Linked DNA regions of Homo sapiens: region 1 is linked to region 2. The links are contacts of gene promoters, found by promoter capture Hi-C in blood cells and fetal thymus (Javierre and others, 2016). All regions are on one chromosome and are shown on one strand. Each heading gives the region's core, a stretch centred on a gene start or on the middle of the fragment in contact. The rest is flanking DNA. Distances are from core to core; before and after follow the strand shown. Region 1 overlaps PGAP2 (post-GPI attachment to proteins 2). Region 2 holds the start of RRM1 (ribonucleotide reductase catalytic subunit M1).

What was found. Contacts are between HindIII fragments. The CHiCAGO score rates a contact against its expected background, and 5 or more counts as called.
Region 1: a contact is called between a fragment that was not itself captured here and the fragment with the promoter of RRM1 in region 2, in 11 of 17 cell types (total CD4 T cells, total CD8 T cells, non-activated CD4 T cells and 8 more). The highest score is 14.8, in total CD4 T cells.

Annotation. Positions count from the first base shown.
Region 1 is chr11:3,812,345-3,816,580 of GRCh38, reverse strand. The region is part of intron 2 of PGAP2 (post-GPI attachment to proteins 2); the gene reads right to left. It overlaps LOC124902618 (a long non-coding RNA gene), which reads left to right. Exons shown (of 3, transcript XR_007062559.1): 2 at 1,320-1,396. Among named protein-coding and RNA genes, the nearest start is that of PGAP2, 5.9 kb to the right of the region's middle. The HindIII fragment of the contact is 495 bases long and covers 1,867-2,361 here.
Region 2 is chr11:4,093,376-4,097,755 of GRCh38, reverse strand. RRM1 (ribonucleotide reductase catalytic subunit M1) reads right to left here and starts at 2,957. Exons shown (of 19, transcript NM_001033.5): 1 at 2,725-2,957. The coding sequence starts at 2,743. RefSeq lists enhancers at 2,728-3,197, 3,258-3,327. The HindIII fragment of the contact is 7,950 bases long and covers 1-3,662 here.

The sequences.
Region 1 (4,236 bases), core at 865-3,364, 280 kb after region 2:
ATCTGAGGGTCATGGAAACCTTCTCCACTGAGCTTGAGCCTGCTGTCCTGGGCCAGACCCAGGAGATCTCTGTCCAGGTCAGACCCAGACCCAGGGAACTGAGCTTCTTCCAATCTCTTCTCCCTCCTGGCCGACAACTCCCCCTCACAACCCCACTGCCCAAACACCTTGACCCCTCAAGCTGGGCTTCCCTCTGGATCAAGCTGAGGCAGACAGAGATGGCTTGATATTAAAAGGCCTAGGACCCAATCTCCCCTCGGCACTCATACTTCCCTCCACTAAGGAGACCCAGGAATGGGGTGGGGGCCTCATGAAGGAACACTCACACTCGGTGCTGAAGAATCCGGGTCTTGGGTTGAAGGTTGTAGCCAGACTGGGACTATTCTAAGACTGGAGGATCCCACCCCCTGCTCCTCAGGGCCTGCCCTCCCGCCCACAGTACCCAATTCTCCACGCCTGCCCAGGCACACATCCTTCCCAGGATCAACAAGCATATGTCATAAATCCTAGAACACTCTGCAAAGGGAAGAAGTGATAGTGGCTGAGGTCAGCTGGCAGTAGCTTCTTTGCCAGTGATGGGGGCAGGGACCTTCCTGAGAGTTGTATCCAGGGTCATAGGCAGGTTTCCAATAAGGGAAAGAGAGAAAGCAAAAAGGGGTCTGGCCGTTTTTTGTTAGAGCAGGACTGAGAGGGCTTGTTGGGCCTCACTGGAGAAATGGCTAAATCCTATGATGACAGAAGCAGGATACAAAAGAGATCTCAACAAGCCTGAATATGAGATATCGATGTTCAGCCTGTACCTGTGCAGAAACAGCTAATAGCAGCTCAGGCTGCCTCAACAGAGGTCTAACAGCCAGGAATAAGAATGAATAGTCCTGCTTTTGCCTGTACTGCCCAGGCCACCTGGAGTTCTATACCCAAATCAAGGCCCAGCAGAGAACAGTGACAAACTGGGCCAAGTTCAACGGTACATTCAGGATAGGGAAGAGCCTGGAAACCATTTCCTTGGAAGGTTGCCTGAAGGAACTGGATTGCCTGAGGTCAGGAGTTCGAGACCAGCCTGGGTAACACAGTGAAACCCCGTCACTACTAAAATACAAAAAGTTAGCCAGTCATGGTGGCGGTGTGCCTGTAATCCCAGCTACTCGGGAGGCTGAGACAGGAGAATCGCTTGAACCTGGGAGGCGGAGGTTGCAGTAAGCCGAGATCGTGCCATTGCACTCCAGCCTGGGTGACAAAGCGAGATTCCATCTCAAGAAAAAAAAAAAAAGAAGAAGACAGACTCAAGGCCCCTCATTACTGTCTTCTTGTCTCTACAGGGCTGACCTGAAGCCACGAGGAGAGAATAGTTCTACGGCAAAGCAGAGCCAGGGCCAAGGCAGAGACTCACCGGAAAGTAAGTACATACTCACTATAAGTAAAAGCTTCAGCCTGGCCAGCATAGTGAAACCCCATCTCTCCTAAAAATACAAAAAATGAGCCAGGCACGGTGGTGCATGCCTGTAATCTCAGCTACTCGGGAGGCTGAGGCATAAGAATGGCTTGAACCCAGGAGGCAGAGGTCGCAGTGAGCCAAGATTGTGCCACTGCACTCCAGCCTGGGCAACAGAGCAAGACCCTGCCTCAAAAAGAAAAGAAAAGAAAGGAAAGGAAAGGGAAAGGGAAAGGGAAAGGGCAAGGGAAAGGGAAAGGGAAGGAAAGGAAGAAAAGAAAGAAAAGAAAGAAAGAAGGAAAGAAAGAAGGAAAAAAAGAAAAAAAGAAAGAAAGAGAAAGAAAGAAAGAAAGAAAGAAAGAAAGAAAGAAAGAAAGAAAGAAAGAAAGAAAGAAAGAAAAGAAGGAAAGAAGGAAAGAAGGAAAGAAAAAGCTTGGGCTAGGCACAGTGGCTCAAGCCTGTAATCCTAGCACTCTGGAAGGCTGAGGCAGGAGGATCACTTGAGCTCAGGAGTTGAAGACCAGCCTGGGCAACATAGTGAGAAACTATCTCTGTTAAAAGAAAAAAAAGAAGAAGAAAGAAAAAAAAAAGAGGCTGGGCATGGTGGCTCACGCCTTTAATCCTAGCACTTTGGGAGGCCAAGGCAGGTGGATCACCTGAGGTCAGGAGTTCGAGACGAGCCTGGCCAACATGACGAAACCCCGTCAATACCAAAAATACAAAAATTAGCCAGGTGTGGTGGCGGGCACCTGTAATCCCAGCTACTCAGGAGGCTGAGGCAGGAGAATTGCTTGAACCCAAGAGGCGGAGGTTGCAGTGAGCTGAGATCACAACACTGCACTCCAGCCTAGGCGACAGAGTGAGACTACATCTAAATAAAAATAAAGAAAGAAAATAAAAGAAAAAGGCTAATTATTAGTTATTAAGCTTCCTTAGAACAGGCTACCTGGGGAGGAAGGAAGCTCCCCATCACTGGGGATATGCGAGCAGAGGCAAAGTAATCAATTACAGATATGATGGACTAGCTTGCTTCTTTTATTCCTAGGGCTGGCCATTTCTGGGATACTCTGAGTGGGAAATTCAGAGCAAATATAAAAATTCCAAGGTGGAACCAACACCGTAGGCTCAGGCAGTGGGGACAACATACCCTCAGGGTCACAGACCTAGTACTGCTCCAGAGGGACCAAGTACTCCAGCAACTATCTATATCTTAATTCCCTAACTGGTATGCCCAGAACAGGTAATAGGTATGCAAGGTATGCAATAACCTAGCTAATAGGGTATTGATGCCATCAGCCCTTGGGGTCAGCCATAAGGGGCAGAGCAAACAGCCTAGTCTGTTTAACTCCATATACTATACAAATATTATAATTTTGCTTGGACTATGATTGACTTATACCATGCCTTCCTTTCCCCAGGGCACTGGGCTAGGGAGTCTTAATCATTTATTCAACCAACACTTTCTGGCCAGGCACAGTGGCTCACGCCTATAATCCCAGTGCTTTGGGAGTCGAGGTGGGAGGATCACTTGAGGTCAGGAGTTCAAGACCAGCCTGGGCAACAGTGTGAGACCCCGTCTCCACACACATACACAAAAATTAGCTGGGCATGGTTGTGCATACCTATTGTCCTAGCTACTCAGGAGGCTGAGGCAGGAGGATTACTTGTGCCCTGGTGGTTGAGGCTGCAGTGAGCTATGATCATGCCACTGCACTCCAGCCTAGGCAACATGGCGAGACCCCATCTCCACAATTTTTTTTTTAATTAAGCTGGGTGTAGTGGCTCACATCTGTAGTCCTAACTACTCAGGAGTCTGAGGTTAGGAAGACTGCTTGATCCCAGGAGTTTGAGGCTGCAGTGAGCTATGATCATGCCACTACACTCTGGCCTGGGTGACGGAAATGAGACCCTGCCTCTAAAACAAATAAAAAAACCCAAATACTTTCTCACTCAAATGCAGTGCCTGCCTTCAAGGAGATCCCCATCTGGTTGGGAAGACAGACACAAATATGATGTGATAGATAACACAGGGAACTGTGGGCACCCAGAGGAGGGAGTGATTACATTAGCCCCAAGGAGGATAGGGAAGACATTTTAGAGCTAGCGGGGCAGGGTTTTGCGGGATGATCAGGAGTGGCTAGCGTAACAGGAATATCTGATGCATTATCTGAGATAATAGGTACTAGGTCATGTACTAGGTCACAAAAGGGTACTCCTTCCCTTCAGATCGCCTGTTCGCCCTTTTCGTCCAGTTCTTTCTAATAGCTCCCAGCCCCAGGTCTCATCAGATTGGGTGTCCATACCTCAACACCCATGTCTACCCACTGACAAATCAGGAGGAGAGGAAACTCCAGTCACATGAAGTAAAGAAGTGGGGCTCCACCCCATACTCACAGCTAGACCCCACTGCTAATCCTAGCCATTTCTCTGAAGCAGATGCTCTTTACATGAAGTGGGGATCCAGCTGGCTGGGGCCTTCAGAACTCTGAGGGACCCCAATGGTCCATGCGCAGAATCTGCCTCTTCTCCACCTAAAGCCCCTAGGTTAAGTTCATTTCCTGCCCTGCCTTCCAACCTGACAGTCTCTTCCTCCTCCTCCTTCTGCTCCTCACATTTCATCATCCTCCCTAAACTACCTTCCTATCCTTCTTCTACCTAGAGCTCTACACTAGCCCTGGGAAGGAGCAGGACAGGAATTATCAACCCTATTTTATTTTTTAGAAATGGGGGTCTCACTATGTCATCAGGCTGAAGTACAGTGAGAAAACCATAGCTCACTCCAGCCTCAGACTTCTAGGCTCAAG
Region 2 (4,380 bases), core at 1,708-4,207:
GCCAGGCGTGGTGGCACACATCTGTAGTCCCAGCTACTGAGGAGGCTGAGGCAGGAGAATCTCTTGAACCCAGGAGGCAGACACTGCAGTGAGCTGAGATCACACCACTGCACTCCAGCCTGGATGACAGAGCAAGACCCCATCTCAAAGAAAATTAACAAAAACTGTAGGAGTTAGTCTGCTATTCCACTGACATGCCAAAAATAAGGGGGTACAAAAAAAGTCCAGAAAACCAAAAACCCTATGCATATTAAAAAACATTAAAATATAGAAACATAGAAATATAAAAAAAAAAAGAAACAAACAAATCTAAGTACATGTTGTATATTAAGTCTTGCTGAATGCTACAATGGCAGAATCTACAGCATGAACCATCTGGATCAAATTGTGCTCTATGAAGGAATGAGAAAATAAGCTCTGCTTTTTAGAGCTAGTTATAGCTAGCACTTTGTGGTTTTTTTTTTTTTTTTTTTTTTTGAGACAGAGTGTCACTCTGTCGCCTAGACTGGAGTGCAATGGCACGATTTCAGCAACCTCTGCCTCCCAGGCTCAAGCGATTCTCCTGCCTCAGCCTCCTGAGTAGCTGGGATTACAGGTGCAAACCACTACCGTCCGGCTAACTTTTGTGTTTTTAGTAGAGACGGGGTTCCACCATGTTGGCCCAGCTGGTCTCAAACTCCACACCTCAAATGATCCACCCACCTCAGCCTCCCAAAGTGCTGGGATTACAGGCGTGAGCCACCATGCCCTGCCACGCCAGGCCAAGGTAGCACTTTTTAAACGAAAGTATTTAGAAGTAGACTCTAAAAGTTCAAAATTCAACACAGGGTTGAATTTTACCCATTCTGGTCATCTAAGTCCATACATTTTCAATTCATCTTTGTTACTGACTTATCATAGACCATCCTAAACATCTCTCCCATATCTAAAGATTTAAAAAATAGATGCTCAAGCCAGGTGCGGTGGCTCCCAGCACTGTAATCCAAGCACTTTGGGAGGCTGAAGTGGGAAGAATGCTTGAGCCCAGGAGTTCAAGACAAGCCTGGGCAACATAGCGAGACTCCTTCTCTAAAAAAATACAAATAAATAATAATGTAAAAAAATAAAAATACAAAAATAGATGCTCAGCTCTCACTCTTATGAATGGATCAATAAAAGTGCACTATGTTATTTTGCTCTTTGGTCAGCTAAAATGTGAGCTAGGAAAATTCACAGAATGATGTTCTCAAGATACCAAAAACAAGAAAGGCCACTACTGTCCACCTTTCCAACTCTTGTCTGTAGTTAAACCAATCTGGACATTGGCTGTAGTTAAACCAAATCAACTACCTGCTTATTCACAGCATTCATCGTGTCCTACATTTTGATACAACTATTTTCATTCATTCTTTAAGAATCTGTTCATGTCAGGTCCTGTGCTAAACGTGAACAGAAAAGTCTCCATCTTGCTTGTATTCCCAGCACTTTGGGAAGCCAAGGAAGGGAGGATGGTTTGAGGCCAGGAATTCAAGGCCAGACTGGGAAACACAGCAAGACTCCTTTACTACCAGAAATTTTTAAAAATTAGCCACTCATGGTGGTGCATGCCTATAGTCCCAGCTACTTGAGAGGCTGAGGCAAGAGCATCGCTTGAGCCCAGGACTTCAAGGTTACAGTAAGCTATGATTACACCACTGCATTCCATCCTGGGTGACAGAGCAAGACTCTGTCTCAAACAAGTCTCCATCTTTGAAATGTTCACAGCCTAGAGGACAAAATAGAAACAACCAGTCGATTAACCAGTATTTACTAAGTGCCTACAATTTTGAAATCATTGTATTGCTTTAACAAAGGCAAGTAGGTTCAACTCAAAACTTGTTCATACGTATCTCATGCGGTTGTTAAAAGTATGTTGCTCTTGTTTTTCCAACCCGATGAAGCCTGTTCCCAAGGCAGGGACTGTCTCCTCCTACAATCTCACAAAGCCAAGCAAAGGGCTGGGCACAAAGCGGGCACTTGGCAAGTCTAATGAAAAAGAACTGTTGAGAAAGAATACGAGTTCCTGACTCTTCCCAGTCCCCATCTTGTCAGAAGATGTCTCAGCCACCCTTCTCTGATTCAGCATCTCTTCCCATGAAGGGAAAGGAACTCGAGGGTGCTGTCTGTCTGGGATCTGTTTTTTCCACGCCACACTCCTATCCTCACCCCACAAAAGAGATCAGTAAACTGACAAGTGCCTACGGAGGGTAGAGAGGCCCCCTCCTTCTTTCCTAGCTGCCCCCCGACCCTGTGCCTAAGACAGCTCACCAACCCCACGGTTTTCAAATCAAACCGTATTGTCACCTATGGGTGACTTTGGGTCAGTCGGCGACACCTCGCTCTGAGCGTCAGTTTCCTCATCTGTAATAAGCTAATCATCTCTCAGAGGCTTGCAGGGAGGAATAAAATAGTGCCTGGCAAGTGCTCGGCGTACGCAGTCACTACTCGATACGGGGTAAGTGTTATCCTTTTGAAAGGCGGCAGGATGACAAAGCCGAGGGGGCGCAGCCTGAAGGCCCGAAGGAGGTTCGGGGCAGGCTGACTGAAGACAGAAGGCCGAGCGGGCTGACAGGGCGGAAGGCCGCGGCGGGAAATGCGGGAAAGGCGGGAAGCAGCGAAGGCGGGCGGGCGGTCTGGGCATCAGCTCCGGCGGCGGCAGCCCGCATCCCCTCACCTTCCTTCTCGCCCACCTCGTCCCCCCCTCACCTCGCTTGATCACATGCATCGCAGCTAGTGGCTGAGGCTCTGAAGGATCCAAGACTGGACTGCGGCTCTAAAGCGCCGGCGGGATCGAGAAGGTGACAGAGTGGGAAGGGTTAGGTTCCAGGCGCTGCTCAGGGGAAAGAACTGGAGTTGGAGCCAGACAGCACTTTCTTCAGAGCAGAGGCGCAACAATCCAAATCCCCTTCCCGCGCCCGCCACCCGTGACGCACAAAGGGGCGCGACGGGGTTCGAATGACGTTACTCGACGCTGCGGCCCACGCCCGGGGTAGGCTTCACAGACTGACAGGCGACGTGTAGCCGCCATGTTGAGTCTGGGCAAGACCCAGAAGACTACGCCTCTCCCATGGGCCCCATTGGATATGGACATGCCCGGCGGAAATGCTGCTCTCCTGCTACCATGTTTTGTGTGGGCAAGCCGAGTTCGGGACCCTCGGGGCCCTGGCGTAGCACCTAGAGCCCGCTGGGTCAGGCGCCGCCCTCTCACCTGCGCGTCTCCGCCGGAGGAAAGGCGGTTAATTTATTTTTGAAATAACAAAACCTAACCGGCGGGAACGTTTTTCTTGCTCTGACATTTATTATAATAATACTAACACTGCCGTCCGCTGTGGGCTCCAGCCCAGGCTCCACAGCCGTGGGCAGCTTGGAGCCCCAGGGCTTTTAGATCGGCCAGAGGACTGACACTCTGGAACTGGAAGAAAACCGCGCAAGGCCGATGGCGTTTGGATTTTATCCTGACGCAAATCAGAGCCCTGAGAGAATTTTAAGCAGGGCAGGGTCAGTACCCATTTGCTTTTAGGGTTCTTCAGTGGATGGTGGCAGAGACAGGGTATTTGCCTTGTGGAGGTAGGATGGACTTGGTGACTTAGAGTGGAGAATAAGAATAGATGAGAACCGTAATATGTAAGGCTGGTGTAGAAGCTTCTGATTTGGGCTACCCAAAGCGATCTTTATGAAATTTCATCTGTGGCATCTTTTCCCTAAAGCCTTTTCGTTGGTTTCTCACTGCCCTCCAGAAGCTGCCCAGGCTCCCTGTGAAGTAATTTCAAAAATCATGGAAAGTCGTAAGTGAGCCTGTAATTGCAGCATTTTGGGAGGCTAAGGCGGGAGCATCATGTGAGGCCAGGTGTTGAGATAAGCCTGGGCAACATAGTGAGACCCCATTTCTACAAAAAATAGAAAAAGTAGGCCAGCGCGGTGCTTCACTCCTGTAATCCCAGCACTATGGGAGGCCAAGGCGGGCAGATCACGAGGTCAGGAGTTCGAGACCAGCCTAACCAACGTGGTGAAACCCCCCCGCTGCTAAAAATACAAAAAGTAGCCAGGCATGGTAGCACGCGCCTGTAATCCCAGCTACTCAGGAGGCTGAGGCAGAAGAATCGCTTGAACGCTGGAGGCAGAGGTTGCAGTGAGCCAAGATCGCGCCATTGCACCCTAGCCTAGGCAAGAGAGTGAGACGCCGTCTCAAAAAAAACAAAAAAAAAGAAAGAAAAATTAAATAGATATGTTTTTTAAAAGTCGTAAGTGAAGTTATAGGATAGATAGGGTCAAGTTTACCCAGACATAGGGTTTCCCAATTTAGCAAATAAAAATGTGTCCCAGATACTGCATGAGAGAAAATTATACTTTAAAAACTGTTTA